2 separate regions of the Homo sapiens genome follow, and region 1 is linked to region 2. Evidence: promoter capture Hi-C in 16 types of primary human blood cells and fetal thymus (Javierre and others, 2016). All regions are on one chromosome and are shown on one strand. Each heading gives the region's core, a stretch centred on a gene start or on the middle of the fragment in contact. The rest is flanking DNA. Distances are from core to core; before and after follow the strand shown.

Evidence for each region. Contacts are between HindIII fragments. The CHiCAGO score rates a contact against its expected background, and 5 or more counts as called.
Region 1: the fragment with the promoter of RPS6 here is called in contact with the fragment with the promoter of MTAP in region 2 in 1 of 17 cell types (M2 macrophages); the score reaches 5.8 in M2 macrophages.

Annotation. Positions count from the first base shown.
Region 1 is chr9:19,375,505-19,382,533 of GRCh38, forward strand. It overlaps RPS6 (ribosomal protein S6), which reads right to left and starts at 4,732. Exons shown (of 6, transcript NM_001010.3): 1 at 4,686-4,732; 2 at 3,983-4,114; 3 at 3,204-3,414; 4 at 2,864-3,010; 5 at 990-1,147; 6 at 211-884. The coding sequence starts at 4,691. The coding sequence ends at 789. RefSeq lists an enhancer at 4,047-5,246. The HindIII fragment of the contact is 12,269 bases long and covers 1,522-7,029 here.
Region 2 is chr9:21,799,401-21,806,567 of GRCh38, forward strand. It overlaps MTAP (methylthioadenosine phosphorylase), which reads left to right and starts at 3,236. Exons shown (of 8, transcript NM_002451.4): 1 at 3,236-3,381. The coding sequence starts at 3,349. RefSeq lists enhancers at 2,115-2,745, 2,746-3,374, 3,869-4,078, 5,737-5,881, a silencer at 3,419-3,578 and a cis regulatory region at 5,809-5,810. The HindIII fragment of the contact is 2,099 bases long and covers 2,060-4,158 here.

The sequences.
Region 1 (7,029 bases), core at 3,482-5,981, 2.4 Mb before region 2:
TATCTGCGCCTTAACCAGACCCCTAGGTGATTCACATGTACATTTAACATTTAGAACTCTGCTTTGTAAAGCTATTATTACAGTAATGCCAACAAAGAGCTTGCATTACTTCAACCTTAAAGCCTAATGTGCCACCTTCTAAAGATCCTGATATTGTCACAATAGGCTAGTCAGCATAGAACTGTTAGAAAAAAGTACATACTTTGTGCATTTTTCACTGATCCAAGAATGTTTTTAGTCATTTCCTTTTCAGTGTGTGAACAGCCTAACAATTCACTGGAGTTGAAAAGCTTTGTTAAAACAAATTTGAAATGGCTTAAAAACCATTTAGTGGATGGTATCCACTAAAACTAGGTATCCACTAAAACTATGCCTTAAAAGTTACCTTTTAAAAAAGACATGTTCATCTTCACAAGGTCAATTTTCATGTATTAAATTGTGTATAGTGCTTTAAAGAGCTATATTCCTCAAAAATAAACTATATAAAAAAGATTAATAGTCCTCATCATTTCCCCTAAGTTCCATGCCATTCTGAAGAGGCAGGTGTCTTATGCTCAGAATCCCTTCCTGTGCCACCCATCCCCTGAAAGGAACCCCTGTACACTGACCTTGTCTTCCACTACCACACACAATAGGTCTGACTTTATCCACCATTGGAATACCATATATACATATCCCCATTTTCTATGACCTAACTTTCCCTCTCTTCATTTATGTAGTTTTCTATCAGCAATGAAAAGTCAACAGAGATCAGAGTCTGATCTTATTTATTTGTTACTCAAAAAATCTTATTTCTGACTGGATTCAGACTTAGAAGTAGAAGCTCGCAGAGAGGAAAGTCTGCGTCTCTTCGCAATTTGTTCCTGGCGCTTCTCCTTAGCCTCCTAAACAAAACAAAACAGCAAACAGTTAAGGCCTTTCTGGGTTAAAGACGCAAATCCAAAGCCAGGTCGAACTCCTCCCACCCCCTCAAATCATCTTAGACTAACCTTCATTCTCTTGGCCAAAAGTTTAGCATATTCTGCAGCCTCTTCTTTATTTTTCTTGGTACGCTGCTTCTTCAGAGCAATACGCCGCCGTTTGTGCTGCAGGACACGTGGAGTAACAAGACGCTGAATCTTGGGTGCTTTGGTCCTAGGTTTCTTACCTAAAAATTCAAAGGACTCAATCATTTCAATATTTGTTTTGTTAGAATCCACATCTACTTTAAAAACATCAGAAATAAACGTAAGCTTAACAGCATCTATGAAAACCTATAATGAGGCCTTTAAAATCAAATCAGAACTATTCTAAAATGCTTTTTGCCCCTCCACAGAAATCTAGAAGATTGGTTAAATATTATAAAAATATAAGGGAAACCAAGTCCTGAAAAATAACCAGGCTAACTTTTACTACCTTCCAGTTTTACTAAAATACAGTGGCATTATGTTAATATATAACTGTGCATAGTTAATTTGTCTGTGAAAACCACTTAACACATTATCTACATAATCATCCTGCCATACTTTTAAATTTGATGTAAGCTTGCATCTCTATTTCCTTTGACAATTCCTGCCAATTCAGGGGTAACGTTAACTATTAACATCAGATTAGGTGGCATGTTGTTAAAGTATCTTCATTAATCTGATCTGTACTCCAAAACTGCTCATGGATTACAGATCTGCATTGGAGCATAGGCCTTTTCAGATGTATTTGTTTCATGGACACTTTGTAGGAGTTAACTGCCTTAGGCTAAATGCTCAGATGTTCAGATTCTGCTAAAATGTTAAGCCTCCTACTATAGACATAAGAACCATCTAAAAATACCCATCAACCAGACCACGCTTGTATTATACGGATTATTTCCAGGGCTATGATTATGGGCAACTGCCACCTATTTGTCAATTGCTTTTTTTTTTTTTTTTGCAACATCAGCTTCATAAGGGTAGGAATTTGTCTATACTGTATTCTCAGCACCTTGAACAGTACCTGTGCTCAAGTAAGTGTAATTACTGACTTAACAGACGTATACTATCTATGCCATGTATGTTAAGTCACACCAGTCCTGAAAACCAAAATCCAGAGAAATTCTTTCAAATTTTGTCAGGAAAACCCAACCTTGACTGACATGCTGTTTATTTAACATAAATATCCCCAAATTTCACCACAGAAATATTGCTATTTGAGGTCCTCACTGGTGAGTATGTTGTCTACTATATGGACAAAAGTTCTTAAAAGGTAAAGCTCCAAAATCCCTAACACCTGCTCCCTAGTATTCTGAGTAAGGTCTCTAACTTCTAATTCTCACAACTCTTAACTATTGTTATCCATATCCTACAGATGAAACAGAAGTTTAAAGCAACTTCTTTTGTAAGCCAAAAAATAATTTTGGGCTGGGTGTGGTGGCTCACGCCCATAATCCCAGCACTTTGGGAAGCCAAAGTGGGAGCATCACTTGAGCTCAAGGGTTCAAGACCAGCCTGGGCAACAGTGTGACCTCATCTCTTAAAAAATATTAATAATTTAGAACATCTGATATAAAATTACAAAGTGTGTGGTGCTAATAGTCCCAGAATTCTCAAACATGTGACTCCTAAACCAGATAGCAATGACCTTAAAGTCAGGTTATTTTTGGATAATGTATACATCAAAGATTCACAAGCAGATTTTCAACGAAATTACTGCACTCTACAAGGCACTGGATATAATAAGCAAGGATTAACACCAACTGGGTATGCTGGCCACCCCCAAATATTTTCTGTAAAAACTCCAAGTGAATAGTGCTAAGGCCTTCCAAAGGCACATATTTATCTTCTGATATGCACACAAAATGATAGACAAATTACCAAAATTAAGCAAGCCCTAATTGCATAATCCCTCCTACCTTCTTTATTTAAGGGCTTTCTTACAACATACTGGCGGACATCATCTTCTTTAGAGAGATTGAAAAGTTTGCGGATTCTGCTAGCTCTTTTGGGGCCCAGGCGGCGAGGCACTGTAGTATCAGTCAGTCCAGGAATATCCTTCTCTCCTTAGAAGAAACAGTTGAAGAGATTTTAATTCAACAACTTCCTTAAGAATCCTAAATCAGAATGTTTAATGTTGAATTGATGGTAGAGAAACAAATCCATTGGTCTGTAAGTCTGGATACTGCAAATGAATAAGCATTTGGACAACTGGCTTTAAATCAATTTCAACGAAAATTGAACACAAGTAACCCTCACCTTTTTTTACAATAACCAAGTTGAGAACGCTCAGATTTGCATCCACAATGCAACCACGAACTGATTTTCTCTTTCTTTCTCCAGTTCTCCTTGGTCTGTAACAGGAATGCCCCTTACTCAGTAGCAGGCGGACACGGCCATGGGTCAAGACACCCTGCTTCATGGGGAAACCTTGTTTGTCGTTCCCACCACTGATTCGGACCACATAACCCTGCAAGAGCATACAATGAATGACACATTTACTATTTCTATTCCAAAATTATACAGTACAGGATTGTGACCTCTGTGAACACACCTATATGAGAAAGTATAATTATGAAAACCAATTTGAACTTAAGCACGTTTTCTCTGTTCAGTGAGTTTTGTCTATATTCCCAACTTGTCAAGTTCAATTATCAAATGTCTTTCAAGTCGCATTTCTAACCGATGTTTTATTAGAGATAACAGCACTAAGAAGATAAAATATCAAACAGCAACAAACAAATCAGATACAACCCTTTTTGGCACTTTGGGGATTATGAGGACAGCTATGTGACATATTGCCAAATGCATGATGCAGGGCAAGAATTATGTTGATGTAAACTTTACGTATATTTTATGGCTTACTCTACGTCCCCCCCTCCAAGGTAATACCTCTAACTTTATAAAGTGGCATTCGGAAGCAACTTACCAAAGGTCAGAAGCCAGAACCCGGAGTCTGAACCCCATTCCAAATACCAGTTACCAATGGCGTTTACCGTCTCTGACTTAAATACCTGCAACAATTTGTCAACTTTTACCTTCCATTCTTCACCCAGAGCGTCAGCAGCAACTTCTGTGGCCATACGCTTCTCATAGAAAGTACGAAGTTTGCGTTCATCGTCCACTTCAATGAGTTTCTGGCAGCCAGTGGCTGGGAAGGAGATGTTCAGCTAAGGATTAAAAGGGGGGAAATAGTTTACGAAACTATCTATACAGGTAATTGTAGAGCCATCTACAAAGTTAATTCCACTGCAAAAAGCCTTTCATGTTGCCTCCACACAAGCAGGAAATATAAGATGCCGACTGTACTCACTAAAAGCACGTGAAAGCAGAGTAGCAGTCAAGAAGCGCCGCACTCAGCAGGACGTTTTCCCCTCAAGCCCCGCGGAATGACTCTGGGGGCGAGGGCACTCCGCAGCCGTTCACCCTCCCGAAGCAAGAAAGCCGGGGTCAAGAGCCGCACCACAGGCCTGCCGCAAACTGGGCAACACGCCGCATCCGTCCCGGCTGGGCGCGGGGACGCCACCATGGCGCTCCCGGCCCGCCGCGGCTCCAGCCGCAATCGCCTGCCATCCGTTCGGCCAAAAAGCTCCATGCCCCAGAAAGGCGAGCCTTCTCCTACTTGAGACCCTTCTCCACCTAAAGCCAGGATCCTGGAGTGCTGGAACTGAGGCAATGCCGCGTTCTGGGACTCGATTCACGTTCCCCAAACCCAGTCTAACACTCGCCACCATCACCTACCTTCATCTTGAAGCAGCTGAACGCCTCCGAGGCGCCACGGAAAAGAGGGCCAACTTCCGCTTAGCGCAGGTCACATAGGCGCTTTCAGTTCTCGCGAGATGAGCAGAAGTACGGGATAGCGGAAGTGAGCATGGGTGGGCGGTACTTCCGGGCGAGATTAATCAGGGCCTGGGAGGTAAAGTCGGTTGGGTGTGGGTCTGAGGTTGTGCCAGTGGTGGTAGTCTGGTAAGGCAAACCCGCGTGTAATTCTGAGGGCTAACCCCTTCCCTGTCTAGTCTTTTCCACGCTGCCTGGGTTTTGGAGCTGGGCGCCAGCGGAGCCCCACTTCTGTCCCAGGCACTTTGCATCTGACGGTACCAAAATAGGAGGGCAAGGCCGGGCGCGGTGGCTCACGCCTGTAATCCCAGCACTTTGGGAGGCCGAGGCGGGCGGATCATCTTAGGTCAGGAGTTCGAGACCAGCCTGGCCAACATGGCGAAACTCCGTCTCTAATAAAAATAGGTAAAATAGCCAAAAATAGGTAAAATAGCCAGGCGTGGTGGGGGGCGACTGTAGTCCCAGTTACTAGGGAGGCTGAGGCACGACAATCGCTTGAGCCCAAGAGGCGGAGGTTGCAATGAGTCCAGATCGCACCACTGCACTGCAGCCCAGGCGACAGAGAGAGACTCCGCCTCAAAAAAGTTCGAGTTCGAGACCAAGTAAACAAGAATAATTTTTACTATCTAAAACTATCACATACCATCTCCCCACTTTAGTGTCACAAAGGTTTGAGTTTAGGACTGTTTTACATTCGAAGTTGAACGATTCTACTGAATCCTCTTTGATCATCTCACATTAATTCATGGAATCTTGGTGAAATGATGCTTTTTAAAATCTGAGTACTGTGTGTCATTTTTTTGTTGAGGTGAAATTGACATAACTAGTCATTTTAAAGTGAACAATTCAGTGGCATTTAGTACATTCACAATGCTGTACAACCACCATCTCTATCGATACAGTTCCAAAACATTTTCATCATCCTAAAAGAAAACCCTGTACCCTGTTAAAGCAGTTGCTGCCCCTTCCCCATTTCGACCAGGCCTGGCAACCACCAATCTGTGTTCTGTCTCAGTGGATGTACCTACTTCATAAAAATGGAATCATACAATATTGACCTTTTGTATCTGTCTTCTAATCTTTTGAGTCGTAGCATGTATCAGTACTTCACTGCTTTTATGGCTCAATATTCTAGTGTAGATATAGACTGCAGTTTGTTTATCCATTCCTCCATAAATAGACATTTGGGTTGTTTCTGCCTTTTAACTACTGTAAATAGTTCTTCTATGTTTGAGTACTTGTTTTAAATTATTTTAGGTATATACCTAAGAGTGAAATTGCTGGGTCATATAGTAGTTCTATTCTCAACTCAGGGAGAAACTGAAACTGTATTCCAAAGCAGCTGAACCATTTTACATTCCCACCGGCAATGTATGAGGACCGCACTTTATCAAAATCATGGCCAACACTTGTTATTTTTTTAATTTTTTAAAAATTTATTGTAGGGACAGGGTCTCGCTTTGTTGCTCAAAGTGAGATCCTGTTGGTCTGGAACTCTTGGCCTCCAGCATCCTCCTGTCTCAGCCTCTGGAGTAGCTGAGACTCATTGTGGTTTTGATTTGCATTTCCCTAATGACTAATGATGTTGAGCATGTTTTAATGTGTTTGTTGGCCATTTGTATATCTTCTTTAGAGAAAAGTCTGTACAAGCTCTTAGCTCCCCCTGTTATTTTTATTGAAGTAGTGGGAGTAAATTAATGTGAGGCAAAGAGAAAGTCTAGAACTATGGGCTAGTTTTTTTTGTTTGTTTTTCCTTTTAAAAATATTTTAGGGTGGCCAAATGCAGTGGCTCACACCAGTAATCCAGACGCTTTAGGACGCTGAGATGGGAGGATCTCTTGAGGCCAGGAGTTTGAGATCAGCCTGGGCAAACATAGTGTCACCCTGTCTCATTTAAAAAAAAATTTTAATGCGTTTTTAATTGTGGGTAAAAAACATATAACACAAAATGTATCATCTTAACCATTTTGAAGTGTACACTTCTGTAATGTTAAATATATTAACATTGTTGTAAAATAGATCTCCAGAACTTTTTCATCTTGCGAAATGGGAACTTCATACTCATTAAACAACTCCTTTCCCCCTACCCACGGCTTTTGGTAACCATTCTACTTTCTGTCTCTATGATTTTCACTAAGCATCTCATATAAATGGAATCAAACAGTAGTAGTTGTCTTTTTGTGACTGGCTTATGTCATTTAACATAATGTTCTCAAGGTTCATCCATGTTATAGCATGTGACAGGATT
Region 2 (7,167 bases), core at 1,986-4,485:
GGGCAGGATAAAGAGAAGTTGATTATTCTGATAATTGCCTGTGGAGAAGTTTCTTTGGATACAATTTTATTAAGGGCATTGAGTCTCTGAGTTTAACTTTTTTCTTCCCAATGACCACACTGTGCACAACGATGATGTTGTGGATTTTGAACCTGAATTTATACCAGTTCAGACATCTTTGGCTTCTTCATGCTGGCATAGGCTTGCCTGGCTGAGAATCTGAAGATGCAATAATTTTTAAAATGTATTACTGTCATTATTATAATTAGTTTACTTATTGTTCCCCCAGATATTTTTTCAACAATGTTCTGCTAAATCTAGAGTGGCTGCTTGCTAATAGAACTTTAGCTTTTTCACAAAGCTTCCAATGTGGGAATCTAATCCATTGTCAAAAGTAGTGGCCAAAATGTCCCTACTCATTGTGGCTGTGATACAGGTGTATTGTAAAAAGATGTGATTCACACACCATTGGGGATCTCTAAGCACACCTCCATGTTATTTAGAATTTTTATTTTGGCCCAAATATCTACAAGGTAGTGGGGAGTTATGTGAGTTTCTTAGGCCATGACAACTTGCCAGCTTTAATACCTTCAGATGAGGATGGGTTACCAGCCAGCTTGGGCCCATTTTGTAGTACCCATCCAGGACAGACATACTGGTCAGGGGCAGAAATATAACAATTCAGTGGGAAAGCTGATATGGTTGGCTGAGGTGATACATTTCATGCATTTGTGTGAATACTTCCTCCTGAAGATTTGATGATTCTGGAATGGTTTGGAGACGACTTCAAAAATAACATGTTTAGTAAAAGGGAACTGTAGGACACTGAAGAACCACTGCTCAAGACCCAACATAGTCAGCTACTGGTGATAACCATTTCAGTACTTTGTTGGCTAGGACCTAGAAGTTGGGAAGACATTTATGAGAGATTATCAAAAAGGGAGAAGCTGTTGGAATCCTTATACTGTTTCATAATCAGAATTGTTGTAAGGTGACCTAGTTCTTGATAATTATCTTTAGAAAAGCAAGGGTACAGGTTAACAGAGGGGGATTTATAGGATAAGAACAGAAGGGCAGGGCAAAATCTATGTTCACAAATAGACCGACTCTCCTTGTCTTGTTGACATAGTAATCAAAAAGGGAGACCACTGAAAATTTTTGCGTATTCAAAATTATTGAAAATTTTGTCTTCCTTTTATTTTAGGGCTTGTTAAGAAAAAACATGACCCAAAATTTGGAAATAAGGCAAAAATATTACTGCCTACCTTTTCAAAGATACTGCACTAAAGAAAGCACTGTCCCACAGGACTGCCCAAGGGTTATCCAAGTCTGGGTAGCAAGGGGTCGTCTGATTCAGGCACTACCCTGAGCGGAAAACAATGGCCCAAGACCTCGACCAAACCCAGCTCTCCACCTGTTTTTGTACAGCTTTGAACTGAGAATGCTTTTTTACAATCTTAAGTGGTTGAGAAAATATCAAAAGTAGAATAATATTTTGTCACATGTAAGTTTACATGAAATTCAAACTTTAGAAGAATTTCCTCTTCACAGACATCACATCTTCAAGAGCAAATGCTTGAGCCCTAACCTGCAAGTTATAGTAGAAAAGTCCAGAAGTCCAGCCTGGTCCTCGCCAAGTTTCCAACTCCTATGCCTAGGGGTATTTTATGCTTACAGGATCTAACTTGGTTACAACGTCTAACTTTTAGCAGAGAGGCAGTGCTGAGTAGAAACTGGACTTGTTAACCATATCAAGTCACTTAAGTTGGCTAGGATCCCCTACTTAGGTAGCGGCCATAAAGCCTAGGGCATCCCTGTGCCCTCAATGGTTCACTTCTGAGTGGTGGGCTTCCTGCTCCTCAATAGAGCAATCGGCAGAAAGGCCCCTAGAAAGCTACATTGTCTTCATCCGCGAAGGATTCCCTGTCTCCTATTCCTCAAAGGAGCACCCGGATTCTACTTTCATTCTTCTTTTGCCATTGCATTTTATAACTTAAAAGAAATAGATGATTGTAACAGAAGAAAGAAAACTTTACATTGTGAGAAAATTTAGACCTAAAGCTTATAGTAATGTGAGGACGAAAGTCTATACTGTTTAAGTAAATAGGTTCTATGAGCAGCATCCAGGCTAACATCACACAGTGGTATTTTGAATTAAATTGTACTTGTGTTTTGTTTCCGTGTTTTGCTGCTGTAAGGAAAGAGGAAAGCATCCCCTTTCTCGGCCCTCCTCCCACGTCCAGGCTAATTTGCAGCATTTCTACATCTCAGAGTCCACCCTTAAGATCCTTGCCACCCATTATTTTGTTTCAGAACGCTTAATCCATCAAGGAAGGTTAAATTGGATTACCCCAGTAGGGAAGGGACGGGGGCTGTAAGCATGAGGGATTATCCCTGTAAAGGGCTCGTGGTGTGTGTGTGTGTGCGTCCTGCTAGTGTTGAATGACGGAGACCTGAGTTTGGATTCTGAATCCAGGTGTATTCGATGCCGCTCCGGCGTAGAACGGGTTAAAGATGCCCCCAGCCAGGTAGAGCCAGACTGGGAGTTGTGCAAGGTCTCAACCCCCTAAAAGCGGCCCCTCAAATTGAAGATGAGTAAATCATAGTTCGTAAATCAGAAAGATTATCCAGTACTACGTTACTCTGTTTATTTCCCTTTCGTCATCCCTGAGTCTTGGGTCAAGTCCATCCCAGCTCTGTCCTCCAGGAATCAAGGGAAATACGCAAACCCGCGGTGGGTTCGCAGCCGCAGGAAGGACAAATCTTGCCCCCGCCGCGGCGGCCGCCCCGCGTTAGCTGCCTAAGAGAATCTCCGTGGCCGGCCAGTACCCGCCTTGGTGAGGATTCTCCCTCCCGCGAGAACTTCTGGAATGCCGCCGGGCCAGATTTTGCAGCTGAGGCCTCCGACGCCACTAATATTGGGCCAAGCAGGGAGTGCTGCTCTTCCTTATAAGGTTTTAGCGAAAGTTAAGTAAGCCAATTAAAGTGCAAAACACACAGTCTGGAACAATACAGCGCTCTATAAATGGTCTCCATTATTATCATTATCCGTTAGTTATAACTGGGGATAAAAAAAAAAAAAAAACGACAAAAACCTGGAGAACCGGAAAGGTCTGCAAAAGGGGCGGAACGCGGGAACTTCGATTTGGGGAAGGGGTGGCGGGGGAGATCCCACACAAGCAGCCAATCCAGCTGTCCCGGGGAGGAAGAGGAGGAGTCAAGGCCCGCCCCTGGTCTCCGCACTGCTCACTCCCGCGCAGTGAGGTTGGCACAGCCACCGCTCTGTGGCTCGCTTGGTTCCCTTAGTCCCGAGCGCTCGCCCACTGCAGATTCCTTTCCCGTGCAGACATGGCCTCTGGCACCACCACCACCGCCGTGAAGGTGAGATGAGCCCTCCCAGCCGCAGCGGTTCGCCCTGCCGGATGCCTTCTCGCCCCCGCGCCGGGGGACCGCGCCTCCGGGGGCCATGCGCCCGGCCCGTGCGTCCCTTGCCGCCGCGGGGAGGGACTGGGGCGCGGCACTCGGGACTCACTTGCCGCGCGAGGAGAGGGTACGCTTGCAAATGATCCCCCTGCCGCACCGCCAACACACACACACACACACACACACACACACACACACACACACACACACACACCACCTTTTGGCTTATCTGCACCCGCACCCTGTAGGGCGTAGGCACCCCTTTAGAGAGAGAGGTCGTGGATGGGAGAGGCTGCACCCATGCCACCACCATTCCTGAGAACCACTCTTCTTCCAAGAAAGACACCCGGCTGGAGTCAGGAGGTGTCCGGGCGCCTGCAGCTTCTGTGACCGTCTCCTGGTGCCTTGCGGGACTCCAGCTTCCGCTCTCTGACTCTGCTTGTTGCCTGCGGCCCACGTGGGAGAACTGCTTACTTGCTCTTTTGTATGCTTCCGGCTTCTTTTTCCTCCAAACGTAGGCCTTCTCCGCGCTGAAGTTTTCCCCAGCAGCGTAATACTGTAAGAATTCTGAGACTTTCTTCGAAAAGGAGTACAGGCGTCCGTTTTTAGGGCTGCACTGTTTGGAGGCCTCTGGCTTGAAACTGCTTTGTTTTGCAGCCTTGCAAGTTAGAGTTCAATTTCCTTGTGCCCTAGGCCCTGAGAGGCCTTGATACAAGGGGTCATTGTGCGGTGGGAAGCTTTGTGCTGAGGAGGGCACGAGTTCTGAGAGTAGCAGCTGGCTTCCCTGGGGTTTTAAACACTTCTCTCCTGGTTAGTATTCCGAGAGAGAATTACAGCACGTAAAGAAAAATTGATGATAAAACTTAAGACCTCTTCTAGGCAGTTTATTACTGGCTAAGAATGCGTTCTTGTTTGATTTTTAGAAATTTTTGGCCTATGGGATAGGAAGGTCTGCGATCTTCTCCAAAGCATCTCGATTCCCTACACTCGACTGCAGTTTTCCCGGGAGAAGGCGAATTTCTGCGGTCAGTGTGTAATCAGCCAGATTAGTTTATTACGCCCTTGCAGGTTTAAATGAGCCACTTAGAATGAGAGGAATGGTGAAGGGTGTTGCATCCAGACTTATATATGAAACTTATTTTGTCATTTTGAAAAGAATCTTGCATCCAGCAAATATTTATAGAAGGCCTCTCCCCTGCCTTCATTGTTTGGCGGAAACAAGGCAGAAATGGTTTTCATGAAACTCGTGTGAAGTATGTGACTTCTCTTAGGTGCTCATCTATAAACTGAGAATTTTACTGCAGAATTTGCTAGGAGGGCTAGAATTATATTGTCTATGTTGCACATGGTAGAAGCTTATTAAGTGGTAGTGCTTATAAGTGGGGGAACTGAGATTAATTTTGAATGATCTTTTCCCCAAAAATTATTAAGTTATTGTGTTAGGTATCATTAGGCCACAACTTTTCACCTTATCCTTGCAGGAATACACTTCAAGCGCCATTAAAAATGGAGAAATGGTGTTTAAAACAGTCTTACTTTAATCTGGTTAGCATTCTCCCTGCCACAGGGTTTCCCTTCAAATTAATGCAGTGCATTTAAGTGCAGAATGGGCAATGGGATTCTCAGAGACCTGATGTAAATATTGAATAGTGTGTATTTTTGGTCTTGGCAAGCTTCTGGATATAAAATTAAGAGGTACATATGGTGCTAGGACTGCCTGCTGATTTCTCTTTTAATTTAGAACAGATGACAGCTTTGCCGTAGAGATTCCATGATGCCAGCACCGTATTCCCCAGACTTCTAAGGCAACATTCTGTATAGAAGATGTGAGGTGCCAGTGTCCAGAGCAAAATAGGTTAATAAAAACCACATCCTATTCCCAAATTATAGAATGATGGGGCTGGAGTGTTCCTTCAAGACCATCCATATAGCCACACAAACCCGTTTTGCGGGTGTAAAGTTGAGGCCCAGAAAGGTCAGCTAAGTATCCAGAATTACACAGCTGGACCTAGATAATGACAGAATTGGGCCTAGAGCCTGGCATTCCACCAACTAGATGTGAGGCATTTCTGAAATCTGAAGTGTGGTCTCTGCCCTGTTTTCTTGTGACCTAATGCACAATTAAAATGAGCACTTGATAGAATGTCCATCTTGAAGAGGGAGGCAGAGGGTATGCAGAAAGCAGGCTGCCTCCAGTGCCCACTGCACACCACCCAGGTATAGGTATAGGAGGCACATGTGTGTCTGAACCCCATTGGTGTCACTGGCAGGTCCTTTGAGAGGTTGCTGGATTTAAATACAGTAACATGTAACACACTCAGCCCAGTTCCAGGTACTCCTTTAATGTCAGCCCAAGTACCTCTCTTCTTAAAATAGAGATATTAACGGGGTGGATCTTAAATTCATTCTCAATTTTAGAGGTGCAGTTAACTCATGCAAGTGAAAGATTCCACTGAGTTTTGGATTGGCAGTATATTTGGCATATCTTTCAAATCTAGCCATCTACTGGTGGAATCCTATTCAAAAATATTTATTGAATACCTGCTAGACAATGGGGATGCAGCTTTGAGTAAGCGAGGCCTTTATTTATTTTCTTCAAGTTTATATTCTAGTCAGGGTGGGAAACCAACTGACATGAAAGTGAAACAGCAGTAAGATTCCATTGGGTGAGGGGTGTCAGAAAAGACTCCTAGGGAGGTGGATTTTAAGCTGTGCAGTAGTCTGCCTCCAAAATCTGTATGTTGAAACCTAATCGCCAATGTGATGGTATTAGAAGATGGGGCCTTTGGGCGTGATTGGGGTCATAAAGGTGGAGCCCTCATGAATGGAAGCAGTGCCCTTACAAAAGAGGCCCCAGAGAGCTGCCTTATTCCCTCTACTAAGTGAGAGGACACCATCTATGAGCCAAAACGTGGGCCTTCCTCAGACACTGAATCTGCTGTGACCTTGAACTTGCTAAGCCTCCAGACTATGAGAAATTTCTGCTGTTTATAAGCCACCCAGTCCTAAGATATTTTGTTATAGCAGCCTGAATGGACTTAAGCTGATAGTGAAAATAGGGATAAAGGGTAAAGATCCAAGTGAAGACCTGAGGAGAGAGATGGGGGTAGGAGAGCGAAAACCAAGATGTCGCAGAAGTGAGCTCAGTGTGGTAGGAATGGAAATCACGGATGCACAGTGAGAATTGGGTGGATGCAGCTCATAAGGCCATCCTTGTAGACCGCGATCAAGAATTTTGATTTTAAATGTTTTGGAAACTGTTGAAGGGTTAAGAGTGGGAGGCAGCATTTGATTTACATTTTAAAATGATTACTCTGGCTGTTGTATACAGAATAGCCTGTGGGCAGGGGAAGAGCTAAGAGATCAGGCCAGAAGTCTTGGTGCTGGGGCTGAAGTCTAGGGTGGGAGCCATGGAGGTGGTGAGGAATAATCAGATTGGGGATAGAATTTGCAGGTAGAACACAGAGATGGATAAGATGTGGGGAGTGCAGGAAGAAGAACAGGATGATTTCTGCTTTTGACCTGGAAAACCAAAAAGATGATGATACTGGTGGATCATTTCAAAGTGGGCGATAAGGGGCCACGAGTGACTCCTTGGAGCCAAGGAGGGTGAGTGTAGGATTCCTTCCTCCCAGATACTGCTGGTTAGGGGGCCAGAGGCTGGGATGCTGAGGGGCCTCTTTGCTGTAGGAGCAGAGTGGGTGGCAGGTTGAGGGAGGGAGGAAGCCACCTGGAGTGAGAGTA